3 separate regions of the Homo sapiens genome follow, and all the other regions are linked to region 2. The links are contacts of gene promoters, found by promoter capture Hi-C in blood cells and fetal thymus (Javierre and others, 2016). All regions are on one chromosome and are shown on one strand. Each heading gives the region's core, a stretch centred on a gene start or on the middle of the fragment in contact. The rest is flanking DNA. Distances are from core to core; before and after follow the strand shown. Region 1 has its middle 12 kb from the start of EIF2S2. Region 2 holds the start of ZNF341 (zinc finger protein 341). Region 3 overlaps CDK5RAP1 (CDK5RAP1 mitochondrial tRNA methylthiotransferase).

The links. Contacts are between HindIII fragments. The CHiCAGO score rates a contact against its expected background, and 5 or more counts as called.
Region 1: a contact is called between a fragment that was not itself captured here and the fragment with the promoter of ZNF341 in region 2, in 4 of 17 cell types (endothelial precursors, M2 macrophages, neutrophils and 1 more). The highest score is 8.9, in endothelial precursors.
Region 3: a contact is called between a fragment that was not itself captured here and the fragment with the promoter of ZNF341 in region 2, in 1 of 17 cell types (megakaryocytes). The highest score is 5.5, in megakaryocytes.

The regions. Positions count from the first base shown.
Region 1 is chr20:34,122,491-34,126,303 of GRCh38, reverse strand. It overlaps the pseudogene RPS2P1. Among named protein-coding and RNA genes, the nearest start is that of EIF2S2, 12 kb to the right of the region's middle. RefSeq lists a silencer at 1,541-1,610. The HindIII fragment of the contact is 6,261 bases long and covers 1-3,813 here.
Region 2 is chr20:33,730,078-33,733,613 of GRCh38, reverse strand. It overlaps ZNF341 (zinc finger protein 341), which reads right to left and starts at 1,618. Exons shown (of 15, transcript NM_001282933.2): 1 at 1,562-1,618. The coding sequence starts at 1,592. It overlaps LOC124904890 (a long non-coding RNA gene), which reads left to right and starts at 1,631. Exons shown (of 2, transcript XR_007067569.1): 1 at 1,631-1,968. RefSeq lists enhancers at 1-249, 1,918-1,977, 1,988-2,047 and a silencer at 1,098-1,807. The HindIII fragment of the contact is 12,577 bases long and covers 611-3,536 here.
Region 3 is chr20:33,378,047-33,381,339 of GRCh38, reverse strand. CDK5RAP1 (CDK5RAP1 mitochondrial tRNA methylthiotransferase) reads left to right here. Exons shown (of 14, transcript NM_016408.4): 8 at 1,649-1,879. Among named protein-coding and RNA genes, the nearest start is that of CDK5RAP1, 22 kb to the left of the region's middle. The HindIII fragment of the contact is 203 bases long and covers 1,277-1,479 here.

The DNA.
Region 1 (3,813 bases), core at 1-2,500, 390 kb before region 2:
TCACCAAGATTTTTGATTTTCTCTTTATCCTTTGTGTTAAAAAATTTCATGATGATGTGCCATAATGTTTTTCCTTTGTTTTGTTTTCTTTCATTATGCTGGGCACTCAGCAGGCTCTGCCACTCTGGAAACTCAGTTTCTTTGATAATTTTCTTCCATTTCTTCTGTATTTCCAGAACTCCTGTTAATCTAATGGTCGACCTTATGGATTCATCCTCTAATTATCTTTTCTCTTTTATTTTTCCATTTGTATTTCTGTTCTACTTTCTGAGAGATTTCCTCAACTTTATATATTAAGACTTATATAAATTATTTATTTTTCTATTATTATTATTTGAGAACAGGTCTTGCTGTATTGCCCAGGCTGGAGTGCAGTGGCATGATCATAGCTCACTGCAGCCTCCATCTCCTGGGCTTGAGCAGCCCTCCTGACTCAGCCTCCTAAGTAGCTGGGACCACATGCATGAGCCACCACAGCTGGCTAATTTTTTTTCTTTTTTTATTATTTATTTATTTATTTATTTATTTATTATTTTTTTGAGATGGAGTCTCGCTCTGTTGCCCAGGCTGGAGTGCAGTAGTGTGATCTCGGCTCACTGCAAGCTCTGCCTCCTGGGTTCATGTCATTCTTCCGCCTCAGCCTCCCTAGTAGCTGGGACTACACGTGTTCGCCATCATGCCCGGCTAATTTTTTGTATTTTTAGTACAGATGGGGTTTCACCATGTTAGCCAGGATGGTCTCGATCTCCTGACCTCGTGATCCGCCCGCCTCGGCCTCCCAAAGTGCTGGGATTACAGGCGTGAGCCACTGAACCAAGCCTAATTTCTCTTTTTAAAAGAATGTTTAGCAGAGAAGAGGTCTATCTAATATTGCCCTGGTTGGTCTTGAACTCCTGGCTTTAAACAATCCTTCTACCTTGGCTTCTCAAAGTGCTGGGATTACAGGCATGAGCCATAATGCCCAGCCAATTTTTCTATTATATTTTTAATTCCCCAGAGCTGTTACTTACTCTATTTTTTTTAGAGCATTTTATCTTTGCTTTATGGATGCAGTATTTTCTATTATCTCTCATAGACTGCTTATTGTTTTTTAAAAATATTTTTCTGTTCTCTTCAGTTTCTGTTCCCTTTGAGTTTCTTTTTTCTCTATTTGATGCTGTCTTTCCTGGTGGAGGTTTATCTTAAATATCTGGTGACCCTTTGTTGTCTCTTCATATTTAAGAGTGAGTCACTAAGTATTTGGAAGCTCTGTGTTAACAGGAAGTTTATCTGTAGGATGATAAAGTGGGTACCTAGGTGTTTTGTTGGGGGACCTCAAATATCAGTATGTATAGATCTTTCCTCTGGGGTTAATTAATTAAAATTAATTCCCTGATATCTTGCCTGGAGAATACAAGCCTTGCTGTCAGCATTCCTGGAATAAATTTCAGCAGGAGGACTGAGTGCGCTTCACCATTCAGCATGTAGACAATTCATCTAATCTCTGTTTTCAGTCTGAAATCCTCCTACCTTAGCCTCCCTGCTATTATATCTTTAGCTGTGCCTGGTATCTCAGTGTCTGGAACTTCTCTACCTCAATTTTGTCCCAGGGGCTGCTAGGGAGATGAAAGGGTAGTTGTCTAAGTGAGTAGGATGGAGAAAAAGACCTGGCAGTTTCACTTCCTATAAAGGCTTTCAGCCAAACCCTCTCTCTTCTGCCTCTCACATCACCTCTGATCTGCTCTGTCCCAGTCCTGACATTCTAGTGTTCTGCAGTACGAATCTGTTTGTCCCTTGTTAGTATAACCCTCAGCAAACATTTAGAATTGTTTTCTCAGCTCAGCTATGGTTTTCCATCTTCCAAAAATTTGTTGATATCCTTAATCTGCTATTGATTTCTTTCTTATTCTCTTTGTCTGTAGACTGGTAAACCTAAAAATGTTAACTCACTGTCACTTCAGTGATTTGGGGAGTGAACAGGGATAAACATATGTGTTTAATCTGTCCAAGCATAAACAGAAGTGCAAGACTGTCAAGATGTCCACTCTTTGCTCCTATTAAAAAAAGTTAGAACCAGAAAATTCATAGATATGGCTGGGCGAGGTGGCTCACGCCTGTAATCCAGCACTTTGGGAGGCCAAGGCGAGTAGATCATGAGGTCAGGAGTTCAAGATCAGCCTGGCCAAGATGATATAACCCCATTTCTACTAAAAATACAAAAATTAGCCAGGCACAGTGGCAGGCGACTGTAATCCCTCCCAGCTACTTGGGAGGCTGAGGCAGAAGAATCGCTTGAAGCTGGGGGACAGAGGTTGCAGTGAGTCAAGATTGCACCACTGCACTCCAGCCTGGGCGACAGAGTAAGACTCCGTCTCCAAAAAAAAAAAAAAAAAAAAAAAGAAAATTCATAGGTAAAATATAGATAAAATTCTACTCTCATAGGCCAATGTGGAAAAAGTAGGAGTCTGAGAGTTGCGGTACATGTGTCCAAGCCCTGTTATTATCATTTACTGGTCTGAAGCTAGGTAAGTTAAATTTTCTGACCATCTGTTTCCTCATCTGTAAAGTGGTGATAATCATCCCTAGATAGTCTATCTTACTTGTAATGATGAAGTAAAATAATTGATATAAATATATAAACATCAAATATATATCATTTATCATAAACTCTATTAGAAGTAGGCACAGTTAAATATATTTTCAGAGGCACTGTAACATAGTAGAAATAATATGGGCTTCAGATTCACACAGACTTGGGCTCAAATTCCATCTCTGTTACTCACTGGGTTATGTTGGGTAAGTGACTGACACTCTCTGAGCCTTCATTAACCTGTTTATAAAATGGGTATAATACTTTTAACCTGACAAGGCTGTTGTTGAGTATTAAATGAGATAATGCATGTAACATCTATAGGGCCTGACACTTAGTAAGTACTCAACAGATATTAATTCTTCCATGTTGGCCCCTAATTTGAGACCAGCTTTTTTTTTTTTTTTCAGGCTTAATTCAGTTTGTTTTTCTTGTATAAAAACCCTATGCTGTAGCCACAGCTGGAGCCTGGGTCCTCTGCATGGAGACTCTGGTGTGGGTCTTGACGAGGTGGTCAGTGAATTCCTGATAGGGAGACTTGGTGAATATAGTCTCCTTCCAGAGGTCGAGGGTCAGGTAGCTGTAGGTCTTAGAGATGGTGTCAAAGGTGGCCTTGGCGAAGTTGCCAGGGTGGCAGTGCAGCCCCTGGCTGAGGTGTGGCAGTCATCAATACCAGCCATCATGAGGAGCTTCTTGGGCACAGGTGCGGAGACGATGCCAGTGCCCCTGGGTGCAGGGATGAGGTGCACCAGCACAGAGCCGCAGCGGCCTGTCACCTTGCAAGGGACGGTGTGGGCTTGTCCATCTTGTTCCCCCGTAGCCTCTGCGCACGGGGACAATGGAGTGCTTGGTCAGGATGACGGACCCGCGGATGGCAGTAGCCACCTCCTTGGAGCACTTAACGCACAGACCGACGTGGCCATTGTAGTCCCCGGTGGCAACAAACGCCTTGAACCTGGTGCGCTGGCCCGCGCGGGTCTGCTTCTGCACCGGCATAATCTTCAAACCCTCTTCCTTGAGAGAGGACCCCAGAAAAAAGTCAATGGTCTCAGATTCCTTGATGGGCAGGGAGAAGAGACATCCTCCAGGTACTTGATCTTCATGTCCTTGACCAGGTGGCCCAGCTTGGTGACGGGCATCTACTCCTTATCCTCGGCCTTGCCTCTGCGAGCTCCATGGCCTCGGCTCCGGCCCAGTCCACGGCCATGACCCTGGCCCCGGATGCCACCGCCGAAACCTCCGCG
Region 2 (3,536 bases), core at 369-2,868:
ATCACTTGAGGCCAGGAGTTCAAGACCAATCTGGCCAACATGGTGAAACTCCGTCTCTATTAAAAATACAAAAAAATGGCCGGGCGCGGTGGCTCACGCCTGTAATCCCAGCACTTTGGGAGGCCAAGGCGGGCGGATCACGAGGTCACGAGATCGAGTCCATGCTCGCTAACACGGTGAAACCCCGTCTCTACTTAAAATACAAAAAAAAAAAAAAATTAGCCGGGCGTGGTGGCGGATGCCTGTAGTCTCAGCTGCTCTCGAGGCTGAGGCAGAAGAAGCAGAAGAATGGCGTGAACCCCGGGAAGCGGAGGTTGCAGTGAGCCGAGATCGCTCCACTGCACTCCAGCCTGGGCAACAGAGCAAGACTCTGTCTCAAAAAAAAAAAAAAAAAAGGAAATTAGCCGGGTGTGGTGGTGCACGCCTATAGTCCCAGCTACTCAGGAGGCGGAGGCACGAGAATCGCTCAAACCTGGGAGGGGGAGGTTGCAGTGAGCCGAGATCGCGCCACTGCACTCCAGCCTGGGCGACAGAGTGAGACTCCGTCTCAAAAAATTAAAAAGTGCAGGGAGTGGCTGAGATCTCCTAGGAAGCTGCAGGACTCAAAGCTTCAGCTTCATCCCGCCAGTCCAGTACTTCGAGTTTGCACCCTATCTGTATACTCATCTCATCCCACTCCTCCAAGACCATTCTTGGTCTGTATTTCCCACAATATCTATTCTGCGCCATGGCCCCGAGTCGCTAAGGCTGCCCTTCCTCCCCGACGCCCAGCAGATGCACACATGGAGGTGCTCAGTGTTTGCTGTCTCCAAAGCCCACAGTTTTGAGCCTGAGCACCAACCCCATCCCAGGTTCTTGCAGAGCACGGAACAGTCTGTCGGCACCCAGCGTTTGCTGGCCTGGGTCTGGGAACACCGCGTCCCGGCCGGGCACACCGCGCCAGCACCCACGGTGTCAGTTTAATTTGTAAAACTGCACCGGCCACGGTGCGCACTGCAGGCGCCAGGTGTTTGCTGGCTTGGGTCCCTAAGCTCTGAGTCCAGGCTGTGCACACAGGTGGCGCCTCTGCTGCTGTGGTCTGATTTTGAGACTACGTCCTAGCACGAGGCATACAGTCCGCTCCGCAGAAGTTCTTCGTGGTCAGGCCGCCGAGGCCCTCCTGCCCGCAGCTGCGACCGCACCCCCGTCCCGGGCCCCGCGCGCCGCCAAGCCGCCTCCCTGGCCGCGGCTGTTCCAGACCGCCCCGCCGTCGCCTCCCGCGCAGTTCCCTGCAGGGAGCCCCTCCCGCGCCCGCCCAAGGCCGCCCAGGCTGGCGCTGTTCCGGACCCGAGCCCCCTCCCCGCCGGCCTGGCTCTCCCCGGCTGTTCCGGCCCCGGAGCTCCCCCGCCGGGCCTCGGCTCCCGCGCTGTTCCCGCCCGCGCCCCTCCCGCCCCGCGGCTGTTCCAGCCCCGGCGCCCTCCGCCCCGCGGCCGCTGCGCGCCCTAGGCCGGGCGCTGCGAGGGCGCGGCGGGAGGGGGCGCAGCGCGGAACAGCCGCCTCCGCCGGCCCCGCCGCCGCTCACCCTCCAGGGCCTCAAAGATCGCCTGCGCCATCTTGGAGCCGCCGCCGTCGCCGCCACAGGAACCGAAGCCCGGCTACGCGAGCATTGTGGGAGCCGTGGCGGTTGAGTCGGGGCCGCCAGGGGGCGCCCAGGAGCCGCCGCCGAGCCCCCAGCCCTGGAAACCCAACCTAGGCTCGCGGGACCCCAGCATCTCTGGGCTGCCCTGGCTCCACTCGATAACCCAGTCACCGGGCCACCGAGTGTGGACCCCGCCTCACTTGAACGACCAAGTCTACACCGACCTTATATCCGCCGCACACGCGGAACTTCCCATCCCTATTATCTAAATCCGCATCCCCATCTCACCGGACCCGACCCCCCAGCTCTGACACAGAATCCCCCATTCCCACAGCACGTGAGTCCTCCAGGTCTGCTGCACGGACCCCATTTCCGCTGAGCACAGTATACCCCGACTCTGCAACAAACCATGACCCCTATCCCATCTCACCCAGACCACCCAACTGTCACAGGGATCTCCAGGCTGTACAACATAGATTCCCATCCCTCATCCCCTATTAGAGACTTCCCGCCCCTACTACCCTGCTCAACTCTGCCTGTTGGGAGCCCGCCTCAGCCTCCAGAGTAGCGGGGACTACCGGCACACGCCACCATGTCCTACTAATTTTTATTTTTATTTTTTTGTAGAGATCAGGGTCTCACTATTTTGTCCAGGCTGGTGTCAACTTCTGGCCTCCAGCGATCCTCACGTCTCGGCCTCCCAAAGCACTGGGATTACAGGCGTGGGTCTCCGTGCTGGGGATCCCATTATCTCTTAAGTAACTCCATCTCTTCACCCTCCATCCCTGCTTGTTGGGACCCCATTTCTGTCACATAAACCCCCAACACCCACCCCAGCCACTCCTAGCCCAGCCTCCGAGGGGTCCTATCCAGGTCTCACAGAATGAGAGGTGCTCCTCACTGGGACTTCCCCTACACACACAGACCCCTCTCATCTTCATTCATCCTCCATCAACTGCTTATTAACGGCCTGCTATGCACCAAGTCCCGTAATAGCTCTAGAGACATGGTGGTCCTTTCCCATGGAGTTAGAGGTGGGAAGAAAGACCGACATTAGGCCAGGCGCGGCGGCTCATGCCTGTAATCCCAGCACTTTGGGAGGCCGAGGCAGGCGGATCACGAGGTCAGGAGTTCGAGACCATCCTGGCCAACCTAGTGAAACCCCGTCTCTACTAAAAATATAAAAATTATCTGGGCATGGTGGCACGTGCCTGTAATCCCAGTTACTTGGGAGGCTGAGGCAGGAGAATTGCTTGAACCAGGGAGTCAGAGGTTGCAGTGAGCCGAGATCGTGCCACAGACTCCAGCCTAGCGACAGAGCAAGACTCTGTCTCAAAAAAAAAAAAAAAGACCGACATTAAATCTTAAAGGTTATTTAATTACAATGTGTATGCCGGCCACAGTGGTTCACACCTGTAATCCCAGCACTTTGGGAGGCTGAGGCTGGAGGATCATTTGTATCCAGGAGTTTGAGACCTGTCTGAGCAACATAGTGAGACCCCGTCTCAACAACAACAACAAAAGTAGCTGGGCATGGTGGTTTGCACTTGAGTACCAGCTACTCAGGAGGCTGAGGCAGGAGAATTGCTTAAGCCTAGGAAGTAGAGGCTGCAGTGGGCTATGATCTCACCACTGCACTCAAGCCTAGGCAACAGAGTGAGACCCTTTCTCAATAATCAATGTGTGATAGTGGTTTCAAAGTACCCTTGGGAAACAAGCAAGAGTTTAGGGAGTGCATAGAGGGGAGGGGGAAACTAAGGAAGGGGCTATTGTTAAAGAAAAAATTAGGCCGGGCACAGTGGCTCACGCCTGTAATCCCAGCACTTTGGGAGGCCAAGGTGGGCAGATCACCTGAAGTCGGGAGTTTGAGACCAGCCTGACCAACATGGAGAAACCCCGTCTCTACTTAAAAACAATA
Region 3 (3,293 bases), core at 129-2,628, 350 kb after region 2:
TTTGATAATTGTCCTGAAATTATATAGGAGAATGCCCTTGTTTTTAAGAAATATATACTAAAATATTTGGAAGTAAAAGAGTATGATATCTGTGACTTTTTCTCAGAAGGCTTAAAAAAAATGTAGTCATATGTGTGTTGAGAGAGAGTGTATATGAGTGTCTGAATGTGAATGATAAACAAATGGGGTGCAGTGTTAACATTTGATGAATTTGGGCAAAGAGTATATGGGAATTCTTTTAATATTGCAGTTTGTCTGTAAATTATGTCAAAGTTACAAAACAAGTCTTTTTTAGCAACCATTATTTGTGAAACTTTATAATATAACATTTCTATTTTTTGAGATGGAGTCTCGCTCTGTTGCCCAGGCTGGAGTGCAGTGGCATGGTCTCGGCTCACTGCAGCCTCTGCCTCCTGGGTTCAAGCGATTCTCCTGCCTCACCCTCCTTAGTAGCTGGGATTAGGTGCCTGCCACCACGCCCAGCTAATTTTTTGTATTTTTAGTAGAGAAGGGATTTCACCATGTTAGCCAGGCTGGTCTGAACTCCTGACCGTGTGATCCGCCCACCTTGGCCTCCCAAAGTACTGGGATTTCAGGAGGGAGCCACTGCACCTGGCCTATAATATAAATTTTCAAACAGACAAATAGAAAGACTAGTATAATAGAAAAACGTGATTGTTAACATTTTGTCATACACCTATCTCCATGCACCCATAAATGTATTTTTTCTGAACCATTTGAAGTAATTTGTAGACCTCAGGACACTTGCCCCTAGATACTTCAGTATGTATCTTCTATGAGTAACAATTTTTCTCTTCATAACCATGATATCATTATCATATGTATGAAAATCAATAGTTATTTAAGCCAGACACTTTGGGAGGCTGAGGTGGGAGGATTGCTTGAGTTTAGGAGTTTAAAACCAGTCTGTGCAACATGGTGAAATCCCATCTCTACAAAAGTAAAAAAAGGTAGTCCCAGCTACTTGGGAGGCTGAGGCAGGAGGACTGCTTAAGCCTGGGAGGTTGAGGCTACAGTGAGCTATGATCGTGCTGCTGCACTCCAGCCTGGGCAACAGAGGGAGACCCTGTCTCAAGAAGAAGAAGAAAAAAATCTAAAACAGCTCTTTTATTTTTTGTTGTTGTTGTTTTCTTTAAATGATGCATTAACTTTTTGAAGAGATCAGACATGAGTCTCCTTTGTCTGATTTTTTCCTCATGTTGTCATTTAATATATCTCTGTGAATTCTAGTAACTGGAAGTTAGGTGTAAAAGCTTGATTAGTTCAGGTTAAATATTTCTGGTGAGAATACTTTATATAGTCATGGTGTATAACATTCAAATGACAGATCTATCATAAATTAACCATTATTGTGGATTATTGAGTTTGTTTCCAGTTTTGATTCTAAATAATGTTTTGAAGATTAATTTTTATATAAGGCTTTATTAGGTTTAGCTCTTTAGGTAAGATGTCTAAGCTTGAAATTATTCGGTTATAGACACAACACACTTATAGGTGACTCTTGGTAGGTTCGATTTTTCTTTTGTTTAAAACAAAAGATATGTTAATTTCAGCTAATTTTTAATTAGTGTTTTTTTATGAAGCTACCCAAAAGTTTTAAAATTCCAATATATTTTCCCATGTTTAGGGGCTGAAAGAAGTGACACTTCTTGGTCAGAATGTTAATAGTTTTCGGGACAATTCGGAGGTCCAGTTCAACAGTGCAGTGCCTACCAATCTCAGTCGTGGCTTTACCACCAACTATAAAACCAAGCAAGGAGGACTTCGTTTTGCTCATCTTCTGGATCAGGTCTCCAGAGTAGATCCTGAAATGAGGATCCGTTTTACCTCTCCCCACCCCAAGGATTTTCCTGATGAGGTGAGCGTCAGGTTAGCTGTGACAAACTGATATTAGTATTCTTGAGCATGCCAAAGGCTGGACCCAGTAGGGATGCAGCAGAGACCTGGAGTCCTGCTTAGGGATCCTGTGGGGTATTGCTGCATCACCCTCCAGATCTGCTGGTCCTTTGAAGATTTGAAGTCCACCAGTGGCTGGGCACGGGGCTTACACCAATAATCTCAACACTTGGAGACGCTGAGGCAGGTGGATTACTTGAGCTCAGGAGTTGGAAACCAGCCTGGGCAACATGGCGAAACCCCGTCTCTACTGCAAATACAAAAAATTAGCTGGGTGGGGTGGGATACGACTGTAGTTCTGGCTACTTGGGAGACTGAGGTGGCATACGACTGTAGTTCCAGCTACTTGGGAGACTGAGGTGGGAGAATCACATGAGCCCAGGAAGTCGAGGCTGCAGTGAGCCGAGATCGCACCACTGCACTCCATCCTGGGTGAGATAGCGAGACCCTGTCTCGAAAAAAAAGTCTGCCAAGGTGGGAGTGGAGGTAGGACTGATATTCAGCGGGAGGTTAAGACCACCTGCGGGACCGTGAGGGCTGTACAGAGAGGATTTGTTACAAAGTGGGCAGCTGAGTGGTAATAATGGTGGTGGGGCGGTAATGGTGGTGTGGGGTGGACAGGAAGGAGGTGATGTGGTGCTCTGGGAAACAGCCCAGACTTTCGCCTCAGACCCGGGTTCAAATCTCAGCTTTTCCACTGTTTTACCAGCGAGCATGTGATGTTTTCAACTTTTCATCTTTATCTGTAAAATGGGGTTAATAAGGGGTTAACAATTACCTCCTGCTTTGGGTTGTTGTGAAATAGATACAAAGGCATACCTTGTTTTATTGCACTCTGCAGATATTATGGAGTTATTTTTAACAAATGGAAGGTTTGTGGCAACTCTGAATAAGTCTGTCAGCACCATTTTTCCAACAGCATGTGCTTACTTCATGTCTCTGTGTCATATTTTGGTAATTTTCACAATATTTCAAACTTCATTATTATTACATCTGTTATGGTGATCTGTGATCAGTGCTATTTAATGTTATTCTTAAAATTGTTTCGGAACACCATGAGCCACACCCACATAAGAAAGTGACCTAAATTGGTAAATGATGTGTGTGTTCTGACTGTTCCACAGACGGCCATTCCCCCATCTCTCTCCCTTTCCTCAGGCCTCCCTATTCTCTGAGACACAACAATATTGAAATTGGGCCATTTAATCACCCTACAATGGCCTCTAAAGTGCTCAAGTGAAGGGAAGGGTCGCAGGGCTCTCACTTGAAATCAAAAGCCAGAAATGTTTAAGCTTACTGAGGAAATCATGTTGAAAGCCGAGCTAGGCTGAAAGCTAGGCCTCTTATGTCAACCAGCCAAGTTGTAAATGCAAAGG